Linked DNA regions of Homo sapiens: all the other regions are linked to region 4. The links are contacts of gene promoters, found by promoter capture Hi-C in human tissues and cell types (Jung and others, 2019). All regions are on one chromosome and are shown on one strand. Each heading gives the region's core, a stretch centred on a gene start or on the middle of the fragment in contact. The rest is flanking DNA. Distances are from core to core; before and after follow the strand shown. Region 1 has its middle 110 kb from the start of SIAH1. Region 2 overlaps N4BP1 (NEDD4 binding protein 1). Region 3 overlaps SIAH1 (siah E3 ubiquitin protein ligase 1). Region 4 holds the start of C16orf87 (chromosome 16 open reading frame 87). Region 5 overlaps LONP2 (lon peptidase 2, peroxisomal).

The links. Contacts are between HindIII fragments. The study calls those that stand out against the background at their distance.
Region 1: a contact is called between a fragment that was not itself captured here and the fragment with the promoter of C16orf87 in region 4, in 1 of the 25 tissues and cell types used here (dorsolateral prefrontal cortex).
Region 2: a fragment that was not itself captured here is called in contact with the fragment with the promoter of C16orf87 in region 4 in 1 of the 25 tissues and cell types used here (spleen).
Region 3: a fragment that was not itself captured here is called in contact with the fragment with the promoter of C16orf87 in region 4 in 1 of the 25 tissues and cell types used here (dorsolateral prefrontal cortex).
Region 5: a fragment that was not itself captured here is called in contact with the fragment with the promoter of C16orf87 in region 4 in 1 of the 25 tissues and cell types used here (dorsolateral prefrontal cortex).

Annotation. Positions count from the first base shown.
Region 1 is chr16:48,495,170-48,497,869 of GRCh38, reverse strand. It overlaps the pseudogene MOCS1P1. Among named protein-coding and RNA genes, the nearest start is that of SIAH1, 110 kb to the right of the region's middle. The HindIII fragment of the contact is 4,156 bases long and covers 1-2,700 here.
Region 2 is chr16:48,579,859-48,582,558 of GRCh38, reverse strand. All of the region lies in intron 1 of N4BP1 (NEDD4 binding protein 1), which reads left to right. Among named protein-coding and RNA genes, the nearest start is that of N4BP1, 29 kb to the left of the region's middle. The HindIII fragment of the contact is 7,549 bases long and covers 1-2,700 here.
Region 3 is chr16:48,357,839-48,360,538 of GRCh38, reverse strand. It overlaps SIAH1 (siah E3 ubiquitin protein ligase 1), which reads left to right. Exons shown (of 2, transcript NM_003031.4): 2 at 1-8. It also overlaps a transcript of LONP2 not described here. Among named protein-coding and RNA genes, the nearest start is that of SIAH1, 26 kb to the left of the region's middle. The HindIII fragment of the contact is 5,602 bases long and covers 1-2,700 here.
Region 4 is chr16:46,829,796-46,832,495 of GRCh38, reverse strand. It overlaps C16orf87 (chromosome 16 open reading frame 87), which reads left to right and starts at 1,316. Exons shown (of 4, transcript NM_001001436.4): 1 at 1,316-1,412. The coding sequence starts at 1,347. RefSeq lists a silencer at 970-1,619. The HindIII fragment of the contact is 8,650 bases long and covers 1-2,700 here.
Region 5 is chr16:48,263,775-48,266,474 of GRCh38, reverse strand. The region is part of intron 6 of LONP2 (lon peptidase 2, peroxisomal); the gene reads right to left. Among named protein-coding and RNA genes, the nearest start is that of ABCC11, 18 kb to the right of the region's middle. The HindIII fragment of the contact is 4,072 bases long and covers 1-2,700 here.

The DNA.
Region 1 (2,700 bases), core at 45-2,544, 1.7 Mb before region 4:
TGGAACATCAAAAATGTCTTGATGGGGGTCACCCACCGATGAGGATCATGGGCCAGTTCTTCATCTGGGAAATACTGAACATGCCTGCATGCTGCTGCTTCTTCCTGCCCACGGCAGCGCCAATGATTCTCAGCAGCTCCTGCTTGGAGGCCCCAGATCACAGTGATCCCGTAGAGATACCTCAGAGTTTCCAAAGAGGCAGACCTTGAGGTTCCCGTCAGCTGTGATTTGCAGGTGGTTGCAGGTCCCACAGAAATGCTCAGACATGGACATGATGAAGCTGATCTGGCCTTGGAAGCCAGGGATTTTAAAGGCCTTGGCTGTCCTGGATTCCTGCTCTGACAGCTTCTCCAACTCTGGCCACAGCTGCCATACAGTTTCTAGCATCTCCTTATAGCGACCATCTTCTTGAAGTTCCACTTGTTGCCATCAAAGGGCATGTACTCTATGAAGGCCACGTCCAGGGGGAGGCCCTTGATCAAGGCCGCAAAGTCCAGGAGTTCATCCTCGTTAAGGCCTCGCGTCACCACACAGTTCACCTTCACAGGGTTGTAGCCTGGCTCATTGGCCTTGTGGATGCCCTCCATGACCTTGTGGAAGCCTTTCCTGCGGACAATGAACTCAAACTTGGCAGGCACCAGTGTGTCCAGGCTGATGTTGATGGCGCTGAGACCAGCCCTCTGAAGCTGGGGCAGCAGCCGGGCCAGGTTGATGCCATTGGTGGTGACACCAATGGTCCTCAGCCCTTCCAGTCGCTGGAGCTGGGCCACAATGTCCACCTCGTCCGGCTGGATGAGCGGCTCTCCGCCCATGAGCCAGATCTTTTCGACGCCTTCCTTCACAAAAAGCCAGGCGAGGGTCAGGATCTCTTTTGTGGTCAACATCTCTTCTGTGGTCAGCAGGTTGGCCTTGGGGGTCAGCGGGACCCCTTCCTCCGGCATGCAGTACTGACATCTGAGGTTGCACTTCTCCGGGAGGGAGATCCGCAGGTAGCTGTGCTGCCCGCCGAAGCTGTCTGTGAGGAAGGCGGAGAAGGGGGCCTCGTGCTCCCGCGAGAACTGCCTCCACCTGGACAGCTCCTGTGAGGCAGCTTGCGGGGACTCGCCCGGGCGGGGCGGCATCACCGGAACCCGTGAGCTGCAGCTCCGTGGCGTTGGACCTTAGGAGCCGGCGCAGCATCCGGGACAGCGGCCGCGCCACCGTGAAGCCTGATCCCGGCAGAGCTGCGGCCCTCAGCCGGCTTCGGGAGCACACTGGCCGGGCAAAAGCGATTCTCCTGCCTCAGCCTCTTGAGTAGCTGAGATCACAGGCATGCACCACTACGCCCGGCTAATTTTTTGTATATAGAGTAGAGGTGGTGTTTCACCATGTTGGCCAGTCTGGCCTCGAACTCCTGACCTCAAATGCTCTGCCTGCCTCGGCCTCCCAAAGTGCTGAAATTACAGGGGTGAGCCACCGCGCCAGGCACATCTACTTTATGTTTCTATAGATTTACCTTTTCTGGACATTTCATACAAATGGAATCACATAATATGTAACCTTGTATGATTGGCTTCTATCACTTAGTGTAATGATTTCAGGGTTCATCCATGTCGTAGCGTGTGTCAGTGCCCCATTACTTTATGACAGCTGGTCATAAAGTAATGTATGCATAGACTACATTGTATGTATAGACTACATTTCGTTTATCCGTTCATTAGTTGGTGGACATTTACACTGTTTCCACCTGGGGCTATTATGAATAACGCTGCTGTGAGCGTTCATATATAAGTGTTTGTGTGCACATATGTTTTCAATTCTTTTGGAGATATATATACAACTGTTTTTATTCATCCCTTTATACTTCCTGTTATGAGAGATGAGGATTTAGCTTGTTTACAGTATTCTCTTTCCTTCCCATCTCTATCCTACCAGTAATCTATTTTTCTTCTTCCTTTTATTACATTCGTAACTGTAGTAATTGTGATTGATTTTCACTCAGATAACAAAAACCTGCCTACAGCAGCTTAAACACACAGGGAGAAATTTGTACTCACTAAACAAGTCCTGCTTATTGTTGGTTCAGCTGCCAAAAACTGCCAGCAGGGACCCAGTTTAAAATAAAATAAAAATTTAAATAAATTTTTTATTTTATGCCTTCCCTGTCTTTCCTGTCTGCCATCCTTAACAGGCTAGTTTTTATATTCATGCTTGTCTTCATTTGATTACAAGTTGGTGGCCACAACTCCAAACATCACAGCTTCATACAAACAGGAAAAAGAGGAGAGTAGGCAGGAAACAAGAGCTATGTCTGTCACCTTTCATCAATAAAGTACAAGCTTTCTTAGACCTCCTCTCACAAACCCTCTAGCAAAGCAAACTTCCACTTAAATCTCACTGGCCAGAACTAAGTCACATGACCACACATAGCTGCAAGGGAACCTGGAAAAACCTACAAGAAACTGGATTGACTAATTGGCTTATATCAATAGTTCTCAACCCTCGTTACATATTAGAATCTCCTAGGGATATTTTTAAGTGTACGTCTCTGAACATGGTCTTATCCTAGGGTCAGTGGTTCTCAACCAAGGGTAAGTTAGCAATGTTTGTGTACAGTCTTGATCCTTGTAACTGGGGGCGAGGTGCGCCCACCATTAAGTGGATAGAGGCCAGGATGGTGTAAAACACCCTACAACACACAGAACAGCCCCCAACAACACA
Region 2 (2,700 bases), core at 149-2,648, 1.7 Mb before region 4:
CATCTATGCATTTAAAGGAAGCAATTTATTGCTTCTCTTTGGCGTGTCCAAATTGCCAACGTTACTACTCTTGTATTTTGGGATCGTTATTAAGTAAAATAAGGGCAACTTGAAGATGGCCACCTAGATACTGCTACAGTCGATCTGATAACCAAGGCAGCTACTGTCTGTTGGGCAGGTAGTATATACAGCGTGGATATACCAGACAGAGGAATGATTCCAATACTGGATAGCGGAAGATTTCACTGCACTGCTTAGAGGGCACAATTAAAAATTTTTATGAATTGCTTATTTCTGGAGTTTTCTATTTAATATTTTCATAACATGCTTGACCAAGGGTAACTGAAACCACACATAAGGGGGGACTCACTACTGTACCTGTTGGCCATTTGTATATCTTCTTTTGATAAATGTGTCTATTCAAATCTTTTGCTCATTTTTTAATTGGATTGTTGTCTTGCTCTTGTTGTTTTGAGTTCCTTTTATATTTTTGGATATTAACCTCTTATGTGTATAGTTTGCAAATATTTTCTCTCATTCTGTAGGTAATCTCTGTTGATTGGCTTCTTGCTTGTCCAGAGGTTTTTATTTGATGTAATTCTGTTAGTCTATTTTTGTTTTTGTAGCCTCTGCTTTTGTGGTTGTATTTTAAAAAAATCATTGTCCAGACCAATGTCGTGAAGCTTTTCCTCTATGTTTTCATCTAGTAGTTTCATAGTTTGGAGTCTTAACCTTTAAGTCTTTAATCCATCTTTAGTTGATTATTGTATATGATGCGAGATAAGGATCTAATATCATTCTTTTGCATGTGGTTGTATACTTTTCCCAATATATTTATTGAAGAGATTGTCCTGGGATATCATTCCATTTATTTGTGTCTTCAATTTCTTTTGTCAGTGTTTTCGTTTTCTGTGTAAAGATTTTTGAACTCCTTGGTTAAATTTATTCCTAAGTAGTTCACTGTTAGTTTAGAAACACTACTGATTTTTGTGTTGATTTTGTATTCTGCAACTTTATGGAATTCAATAATTCTGGGGGTTTTTTTGGTGGACTGTTAGGGGTTTCCTATATAGTAAAATCATGTCATCTGGGAACAGTTTAACTTTTTTCTTTCTAGTGTGGATGTCTTATATTTCTCTTGCCTAATTGCTCTAAAACTTTGAATACCATATTGAAAGAGCGGGCTTCTTTGTCTTGTTCCAGATCTTACAGGAAGAGCCTTAAATTTTTCTTCACTGAGTATGTTATGAGTTGCAGATTTATCATATGTGGCATTTATTGTGTTGAAGTGTTGGGATTTTTTTTTTTTTATCATGAAAAGGCATGGGATTTTATCAAATGCTTTTTTGGCATTCATTGAACTGATCATATGGCTTTTGTTTTTCATTCTGTTAATGTAATGTATCCTGTTTTTTCATTTGCATTTGTATTTGTTCAGCCATCCTTGCATTCCTTGGATGAATCCTACTTGATTATAGTGAATGATCTTTTTAATGTGTTATTGAATTCTCTTTGCTATTACAGTAGTCTCTTGTCATTTGTGGGTGATTGGTTCCAGGATCTCTCACGGATATGAAAATCTGCAGCTACTCAGGTCCCTGGTATAAAATGGTATAGTGTTTGCGTATAATCTATGTATATTTTCCTGTATACTTAAATCATCTTGAGATGATTTGACCTCCTTGACCTACTTATAATGCCTTATACAATGTAAATGTGATATAAATAGTTATATTGTATTCTTTAGGGAATAATGACAGGAAAAAAGTCTGTACATGTCCAGGACAAATGTAATTTTTTTTCTGAGTATTTTCAATCTGTGGTTGGTTGAATCCATGGATGCGGAAACCACAGATAGAGAAGGCCAACTATATTTTGTTGAAGGTTTTTGTATCTGTGTTCATCAGGGATATTGGCCTGCAGTTTTCTTTTTTTGTTTTATCCTCATCTGGTTTTGGTACCAGGGTAATGCTGGCCTCAAAAATGAATTTGGAAGTATTTCCTCCTCTTCAGTTTTTTGGAAGAGTTTGAGAAGAATTGACATTAGTTCTTCTTTAAATGTTTGGTAGAATTCAGCAGTGAAGCAAGCCATCAGTTCCTGGGCTTTTCTTTGATAGGAGACTTCTTATTACTGATTTAGTCTCACTCATTATTAGTCTCTTCAGGTTTTCTATTCCTAATTCAATCTTGGTAGGTTGTATGTGTCAAGGAATTTATCCATTTCTTCTGAGTTATCCAATTTGTTCGTGTATAATTGTTCATAATAGTTTTTTGTGATCTTCTGTAAATCTGCAGTATCAGTTGTCATATCTACTTTTTCATTTCTGATTTTGTCTCCTCTTTTTTCTTAGTCTAGCTAAAGGGTTATGAATTTTTAAAACCTTTTCATAAACAACTCATTTTATTAATATTTTCTATTTTTATAGTCTCTGTTTCATTTATTTCTGCTCTAATCTTTCATTTATTTCTAATCTAATCTTAATTTCCATCTGGATTTTGCCATGTTGCCCAGGCTGGTCTTGAACTGAAAGTGGTGTGTTGATGTTCCTTACAGTTATTGTATTATAGTCTATCCCTTCAAATCTATTAATATTTGCCTTATGTATTTGAGTGTGTACATATATATATATATGTATGTATAGTTGTTATACTGTCATGCTGAATTGACCCCTTTAATATTTTATAATGACTTTGTTTCTT
Region 3 (2,700 bases), core at 129-2,628, 1.5 Mb before region 4:
TAAAAAAATCTTACTGTGTCTGCTTTAGCTCTAAGTTTGATAAAATCCGAAGTTATTTTCCTGTTTCATTCCATACTTTAATTATATAGCAGAAAGCTGTGTGTTGTCATTTTTAAGTGCGGTAGACTTAACTCTAATCACAGCAAATAACTGGGTATATGGCCTCTGGATTAGTCTTTCCCATGCCCTGCCCCTCTTGCCCACATTTTGATTCTTACAACTGTCAGGAGAATGACTAAAATGCTGACCACTTTTCACCTCTTTAAAAAAGCACAATGATATAATAAATTCACTATTTCATAGCCTAGTGGCTAAGAGCCTTGGTTCTGCAACCAGACTTCCAGGCACCTAAGTGCCAGTCTCGGCTCTACCCCACTAACCAGCTGTGTGACCTTGGGCCCCAGTTTCCTAATGTGTAAAGTGGGGTTAAATTATGGTAGATACTTAAAACCTTTAAATGGGGTACAGGTATGTTACCTGAAACAGTGCTTTGCTCATATCAGCATCCAGCGAATGTTAGCTACCATTATGCCTTCAGTACCATGTAGTTAACTGTTGCTAATTACTTTGAGGCACATGGCAAGATTCTGAAATTGCCTTCTGAATGGTGAAAGAGAATTTTGTGTGGTTTTTATGGGTACTGTAAGCCTAGAAAGTCAATGAAAATTTGGGCTTCACCCTTATCCCACCACTGATTCTGGATAATTTTGGATAAGAGTTTATTTCTGTTATCCATTTTCAGAAAAGATGATTGTGTAGTCTCTTCCTTACATAAATATCTTTTGAACTGGTTATAATGTGCTTGTGGAGCTTTTTTTTTTTGAGACGGAGTTTTACTCTTGTCACCCAGGCTGGAGTGCAGTGGCGTGATCTCGGCTCACTGCAACCTCGGCCTCCTGGGTTTAAGCGATTCTCCTTCCTCAGCCTCCAGAGTAGCTGGGACTACAGGCACGTGCCACCATGCCCGGCCAATTTTTATATTTTTAGTAGAGACGGGGTTTCACCATGTTGGCCAAGATGTTCTCAATCTCCTGACCTTGTGATCCGCCTGCCTCCCAAGTGCTGGGATTATAGGCGTGAGCCACCGCGCCCGGCCTTGCGTAGCCATTTTTATGGTGAAAGAGAACAACAGTTCAACCACAGATTTATATTCAAGTCTGTTCATTAGCATGTGTGCTTGGAAAAAGTGACTTTTATTCCATATTTAATGTTGTATGGTGAAAGGGTTACATTATAATATGTAAAAGGGCTCCCAATATCTTTCAAAATAAACGTGGCTGGACGCTGTGGCTCATACCTGTAATCCCAGCACTTTGAGAGGCCAAGGTGGGCGGATCACTTAAGGTCAGGAGTTCGAGACCAACATGGTGAAACCCTGTCTCTACTAAAAGTACAAAAAAGCCAGGCATGATGGCACACCCTATTAGGGAAGCTGAGGCAGAAGAATCCCTTGAACCCAGGAAGCGGAGGTTGCAGTGAGCCAAGATCGTATCACTGCACTCCAGCCTGGGTGACGGACTGAGACTCTTGGCTCAAAAAACAAAACATATTGGGTATATTCGTGGAGGTATATCATTTTGTAGTTTTACTATTAAGTGTTTTGATTATAAAGTTCATGTAGACTTTGGAAATTATAAAACTGCACATACAATTGAGATGTGTAATCTTAACTGTCCACTCAGGTGACATTTTTATTTTTCCAGTTTTTTTTATGTGTATGTACATATGCTCATCCTCTGTCACCCAGGCTGGAGTATAATGGTGCAATCGGTTCACTGCAGCCTCAAACTCCTGGGCTCAAGTGATCCTCCCATCTCATCCTCCTGCGTAGCTGAGAGTACAGGTGTATGGCATCATGCTTGGCTAATTAAATTTTTTTGTGGAGATGGGGTCTCGCTATGTTGCCCAGGCTGGTCTCAAACCCCTTGGGCTCAAGTGATCCTCCTGCCTTGGCCTCCTGAAGTGCTGGGATTACAGGCATGAGCAGCTGGCTCCAGCCACATGTTTATTTTCAAAGATATTGGGAGCCCTTTTATGTATTACCTTGTAGGCCTTTCATCACACAACATGGTCATCTGAGTGTTTCACCACTTTAATAATCTTGGAAAAATAATTTTTGTTAGTTTGAGGATTCACTGTAATTTTACCTAGGTTCTTGCTGGATATAAGTAAACCATGAACATACCTGTATGTTTTCTGTTTATATTCTTGGGATTATTTTTTACACACTTCATCATTGCTTTCTGGAGAGGTTCCAGAGGACACCAGTAACTGTGTGAAGTTTTCCATTTTCATTTTCACCTCATGTTTTGCTAATTTAAGCAAATTAAGGTAGTACATTTTGTGTTTAACAGTTAATAAGCTTGACATTTTAGTATTAACTATTTGCATTTGGGTCTTCATATTCTTAGCCTATAGAGGTAAGATCTATAGCCATATTTCTTGGTCCATTACACATTTGATTTATGAGGCATAACTCTTGTCCTGAAATTGCTTGTTATAACGAAGACTTCCTCCATTTCTTATTTTTGGTGTCTTTCAGGAGGCTGTACATGGGGTAGGTATGGGAGATACTTATTAACTTTGTTCTATTGCTTTTATACCCTTAAACTTGAAATTGTCCTATTTAATCATGGGCCAGTTTGGTGTGTTAATTTTTGGGGAACAGTTTTTCCTTTGTGAGTAATTTTTATTGTAATA
Region 4 (2,700 bases), core at 67-2,566:
CTTTGCTTTAGTTAACAATTGTTGAATAAAAAGTTATCAGTGGAATAGCCAGTCTCTGTAATAAATGCATATTGGTAAATTTTCTCTGAGCCAAGTGTACAGTTTGTAAATTTTCTTTCTGTTATGTTTGTTCTGATTGTTTATTAAGTATAACTTTGGGTCTGTCAAATTAAATATTTAAAAGTAAGCTTACGTTTTGCATAGTTGTTTTTAAATTTCACTTTTTCTTTCTTTTTCTTTTTTTTGAGACGGAGTCTCGCTCTGTCGCCCAGGCTGGAGTGCAGTGGCCACAATCTCGGCTCACTGAAGCCTCAATCTCATAGGCTCAAGCGATCCTCCCACCTCAGCCTCTCTACTAGCTAGGACTCCAGGCATGGGCCACCACGCTCAGCTAATTTTTAAAAATCTTTTACTTTTTGTAGAGATGGGGGTCTCGCTATGTTGCCCAGGGTGGTCTGGAACTCCTGGGCTCAAGAGATCCGCCCTCCTCGGCTTCCCAAAGTGCTGGGATTACAGGCGTGAGCCATTGCGCCCAGCCTCGAATAATTTAATTTTAATGTTAATTTAGTAAGTATCAGTCACGGACAGATTGGAAAAAGAAAAACATCTGATCCCTCATCTTGATAGTGAGTAGCACTGGTTTACACAGCTAGGCTGCTCCTTGAAGGCTGACACTGCATTTTATTCAAATTTTCCTGACAGTGGGACTTAGGCAATTATATATTGAATAAATAAATGAATTTTCACTCTGCTGCTGGGTCCAGTGGTCTCATAAAATGTCTATCATAATTTCTCAATGATTAGCCTTGGTAACATCTACTTAAGTTTATTAAATGCCAGGATCCACGCTACGCCCTTCACCATTCATTCCCCAGCCTTCGCTCCCACGGTCTCTGTGGGGATGGGGCGTGCCCAGCACTACGGCCCGCCCTACCTATGCATTCGTTGGTCGAACTCGACGCCCGTTACTGCCGAGTCCCGCCCAGGCCTTGCCCCCTCGTAGTCGGCCAGGCCGAGAGGAGGCGTGGCCACTGCCGCGCCGGGGCGGTCTGGCGGAGGGGGGGGAGGTCTCCCCTCGTCTCGTGATACTCTGGGCGAGCTCGCGGGCGGGCTGTGGGTCGCGAGCCGCCGTGGGAGCGCGTGTCGCGGTCCCCAGGAGCCGCCGGCCGACGCTCCGCCCCGCCCCCTTGGCGCCCAGGTCCCGCGCGAGCTCGCGCACGCGCGCGCGCGCACCCGCCAGAGGCTTGTTTGAGGCCCGCGGGGACTGGGCGGGCGGAGGCCGGGCTGCCGAAGTGTGAGGGGAGGAGCCCGAGCCGTCGCTGCTGCCGCCGCTAAGGGAGAGGAGCATGTCTGCAACTCGAGCCAAGAAAGTGAAGATGGCCACCAAATCATGCCCCGAGTGCGACCAACAGGTGGGTGCCGGGGGCCGGGCGCGCGGGCGGGCGGCAGTGGCTTGGCGGCCGTTGTCTGTGGAGGGGGGCCTCGCCGGGCTCCCGGAGGCCGAGCGGTGGGCAGATCCTGGGGCCCGCCGGCGGCGGCGGGGATCCGGGGCCGGTCGGGCTGCACCGAGGGGTTTCCCGGGAAAAGCCCGGGGCCGTGGCCCGCCAGCGTCCACCTGGCGGCGGCCAGACGGCCAAGCCCCTTCTTGCTGTGTCCCGGCCACTGGAGGAGCGCGCCTTTGGTGGGCTCACCGGGCGGCTGTCTGGAGCCCCAGACTCTCCTCGCCGGCGGCGGTGACAGCGGTGGGAGCCTGCGGGCCGCAGCCCCGGCGAGAGTGTGCCGCACGCCCGCCTCCGAGGCCAGGCCCTAGCTCCGAGAACCCCTCCTGCGGCCGGGGCGGCTTTGTTCCCGGTTCCGACGGGTGCGGGGCTTCCCCAAAACGGCCCCTCCGCGACCGGGGCGGGCGCCTGAGTGGGACAAAGGGGGCCGCGTGTAATGATTTTGAGTTTCGGCGAATTTGGAGATTTTTTCCCCTTCCTCATCTATTTATTATATTTTTGCTGTGCAATCGCGAATCCTGCCTTTACATCGTTTTTAATGGGTCATGATTGAATAAAGCCCCTGTTTAAGCCCTTCCTCCTTTTTGGGCGCTCCTAACTTCCCCACCCCTCGCAGTATCCACTGTTACAAATTTGGCCTGTCTGCTTCCAGATCTGTATCCCTGTCTGTCTGAATGTCTCTGTGTGTCTCTCTCTCTCTCTCTCTCTCTCTCTCTCTCTCTCTCTCTGTCTGTCTCTCTCTATCTCTCTATCTCTCTATCTCGTTTCTTGAATTTGAAACGATTCCTTTCTACATTGAGTTCATGGTGTAATAGTTGTAATTTAAAACATCTCATTTCAGTGATCGCTGTGTTGAAGCGTGTCTCAATTCTTTACTGGAATAATAGACATTCCTTTAAGCCTTAACATCTAATGAGTTAAAACTACTTCAGTTAAAACCATTCGTAAGGCCCTCGTTTGTTACCAACATGTAGATCTGGGTGTGTTTTTTCCTTTTCCACTGAGTGGATTTTTTCAAAATGACTACCTTTCTCTCCTCCCCTCCCCCCACCGCCTTTTTTTTTTTTTAAATCAAGAGTAATTTGAAATGGCTGGAGACTTTTTAATAAGCTGATTTTAGTGCATTTTTCAAGGAGAATTCTTGTAGGTTTTTCAAATCTTTTAACAGAAAACATGTTACATGTTTTATTAAGTATCCTTT
Region 5 (2,700 bases), core at 105-2,604, 1.4 Mb before region 4:
GAGGTGAGGGTTATGCTCATTATCTTAATTATGGTGATGGTATTACAGATGTATATGTAAGTCAAAACTCATCAAAATGTACATACTACATTTGTGAAGTTTACTGTACGTCAATTACACTTCAATAAAGCTCAAAAAAAAAAAAAACCTTTCTCCAAAGAGAAATTAAGGGCCAGACGCAGTGGCTCACGTTTGTAATCCCAGCACTTTGGGAGGCCGAGGCAGGTGGATCACTTGAGGTCAAGAGTTCGAGACTAGCCTGTCCAACATGGTGAAACCCCGTCTCTGCTAAAAATACAAAAAATTAGCCGGGTGTCATGGCAGGTGCCTGTATTTAAGGCTACTCGTGAGGCTGAGGCAGGAGAATCGCTTGAACTTGGGAGGCAGAGGTTGCAGTGAGCCAAGATCATGCCACTGCACTCCAGCCTGGGCGACAAGAGTGAAACTCCTGTCAAAAAAATAAATAAATAAATAGAAATTAAGGAAACAATCTCATTTACAATAGTTTCAGAAAGAATGAAATACTTAAGTACAAACTTAACCAAGGAGGTAAAATGTCTGTACACTAAAAATTATAAAACACTGATGAAATAAGTCAGACACAAATAAATGGAAAGATATTACATGTTCGTAGACTAGAAGAATGTTGTTAAAATGTCTATACCACTCAAAGCAATTTACAAGTTCAATGTAATCCCTATTAAAATTCCAATGACATTTTTCACAAAAATAGATTTAAAAATCCTAAAATTAATAAGAAATTACAAAAGACCCTGAATAGCCAAACCAATCTTGAGCAAGAACAAACGTGGAGGCACCAGACTTTCTGACTTCAAGTTATATTACGAAGCTACAGTAATCAGAGAGTATGATTCTGGCACAAAAACAGACACACGGACCAATGGAATAGAATAGAGGGCCCAGAAATAAACCTATAAAGTTACCTAGAAGGTCAACCAATTTTCAACAAGGGCACCAAGAATATACAATAGGGAAAGGGCAGTCTCTTCAAGAAAATGTTGTGGGAAAACCAGATACCCACAGGCAGAAGAATGCACTTGAACCCTTATATGACACCATGTACAAACATTAATTCAAAATGGATTAAAGACTTAAATGTAAGGCCTGAAACTGTAAAACTCCTAGAACAAAATATATTTTAAAAGCTCCTTGACATTGGTCTGGGCATGGTATTTTTGGATATTGACACCAAAGTCAAGGCAACAAAAGCAAAAATGAACAAGTGAAATTATATCAAACTGAAAAGCTTCTGTACAGAATAAAAAAAGTTCAGCAAAATGAGAAGGCAACCTATGTAACAGCAGAAAATATGTGCAAACCATATTTCTGATAAGGGGTTAATATCCAAAATACACAAGGAACTCATGAAACTTAACGGCAAAAAATCAAATAGGTGCTTATCATGACTAATCATCAGGGAAATGCAAATCAAAACCACAATGAGAAAGCACTTTATGCCTGTTAGGATGGCCATTATTTAAAAAAACAAACAAACAAACAAAAAAACCATCATCAGTGAAGGTGAGGATATGGAGAAAAGGGCACCCTTGTACACTGTTGTTCGGAATGTAAATTGGTACAGCGTGTTGCGGGAAGTCAGGGACCCCAAACGGAGGGACCGGCTGAAGCCATGGCAGAAGAACGTGGATTGTGAAGATTTTATGGACATTTATTAGTTCCCCAAATTAATACTTTTGTAATTTCTTATGCCTGTCTTTACTGCAATCTCTAAACATAAATCGTAAAGATTTCATGGACACTTATCACTTCCTCAATCAATACTCTTGTGATTTCCTATGCCTGTCTTTACTTTAATCTCTTAATCCTGTCAGCCAAGGAGGATGTATGTGGCCTCAGGACTATGTGATAATTGCGTTAACTGCACAAATTGTACAGCATGTGTGTTTGTGCAATATGAAATCTGAGCACCGTGGAAAAAGAACAGGATAACAGCAATTGTTCAGGGAATAAGAGAGATAACCTTAAACTCTGACCGCTGGTGAGCCGGGCAGAACAGAGCCATATTTCTCTTCTTTCAAAAGCAAATGGAAGAAATATCGCTGAATTCTTTTTTCTCAGCATGGAATGTCCCTGAGAAACAGAATGCGCACCTAGGGGTAGGTCTCTGAACTGGCCCCCCCGGGGCGTACCTGTCTCTTATGGTCGAGATTGCAGAGGTGAGATAGACTCCAGTCTCCCATAGCGCTCCCAGGCTTATTAGGAAGAGGAAATTCCCATCTAATAAATTTTGGTCAGATCCGTTATCTCAAAACCCCGTCTCCTGATAAGATGTTATCAGTGACAATGGTGCCCGAAACTTCATTAGCAATTTTAATTTCGCCTCGGAGCTGTGGTCCTGTGATCTCGCCCTGCCTCCATTTGCCTTGTGATATTCTATTACCCTGTTAAGTACTTGATGTCTGTCACCCACACCTATTCGCACACTCCCTCCCCTTTTGAAAATCCCTAATAAAAACTTGCTGGTTTTTGTGGCTTGTGGGGCATCACGGATCCTACCAACGTGTGATGTCTCCCCCAGACACCCAGCTTTAAAATTTCTCTCTTTTGTACTCTGTCTCTTTATTTCTCAAGCCAGCCAATGCTTAGGAAAATAGAAAAGAACCTACATGATTATTGGGGCAGGTCCCCCGATAACAGCCATTATGAAAACAGTATGGA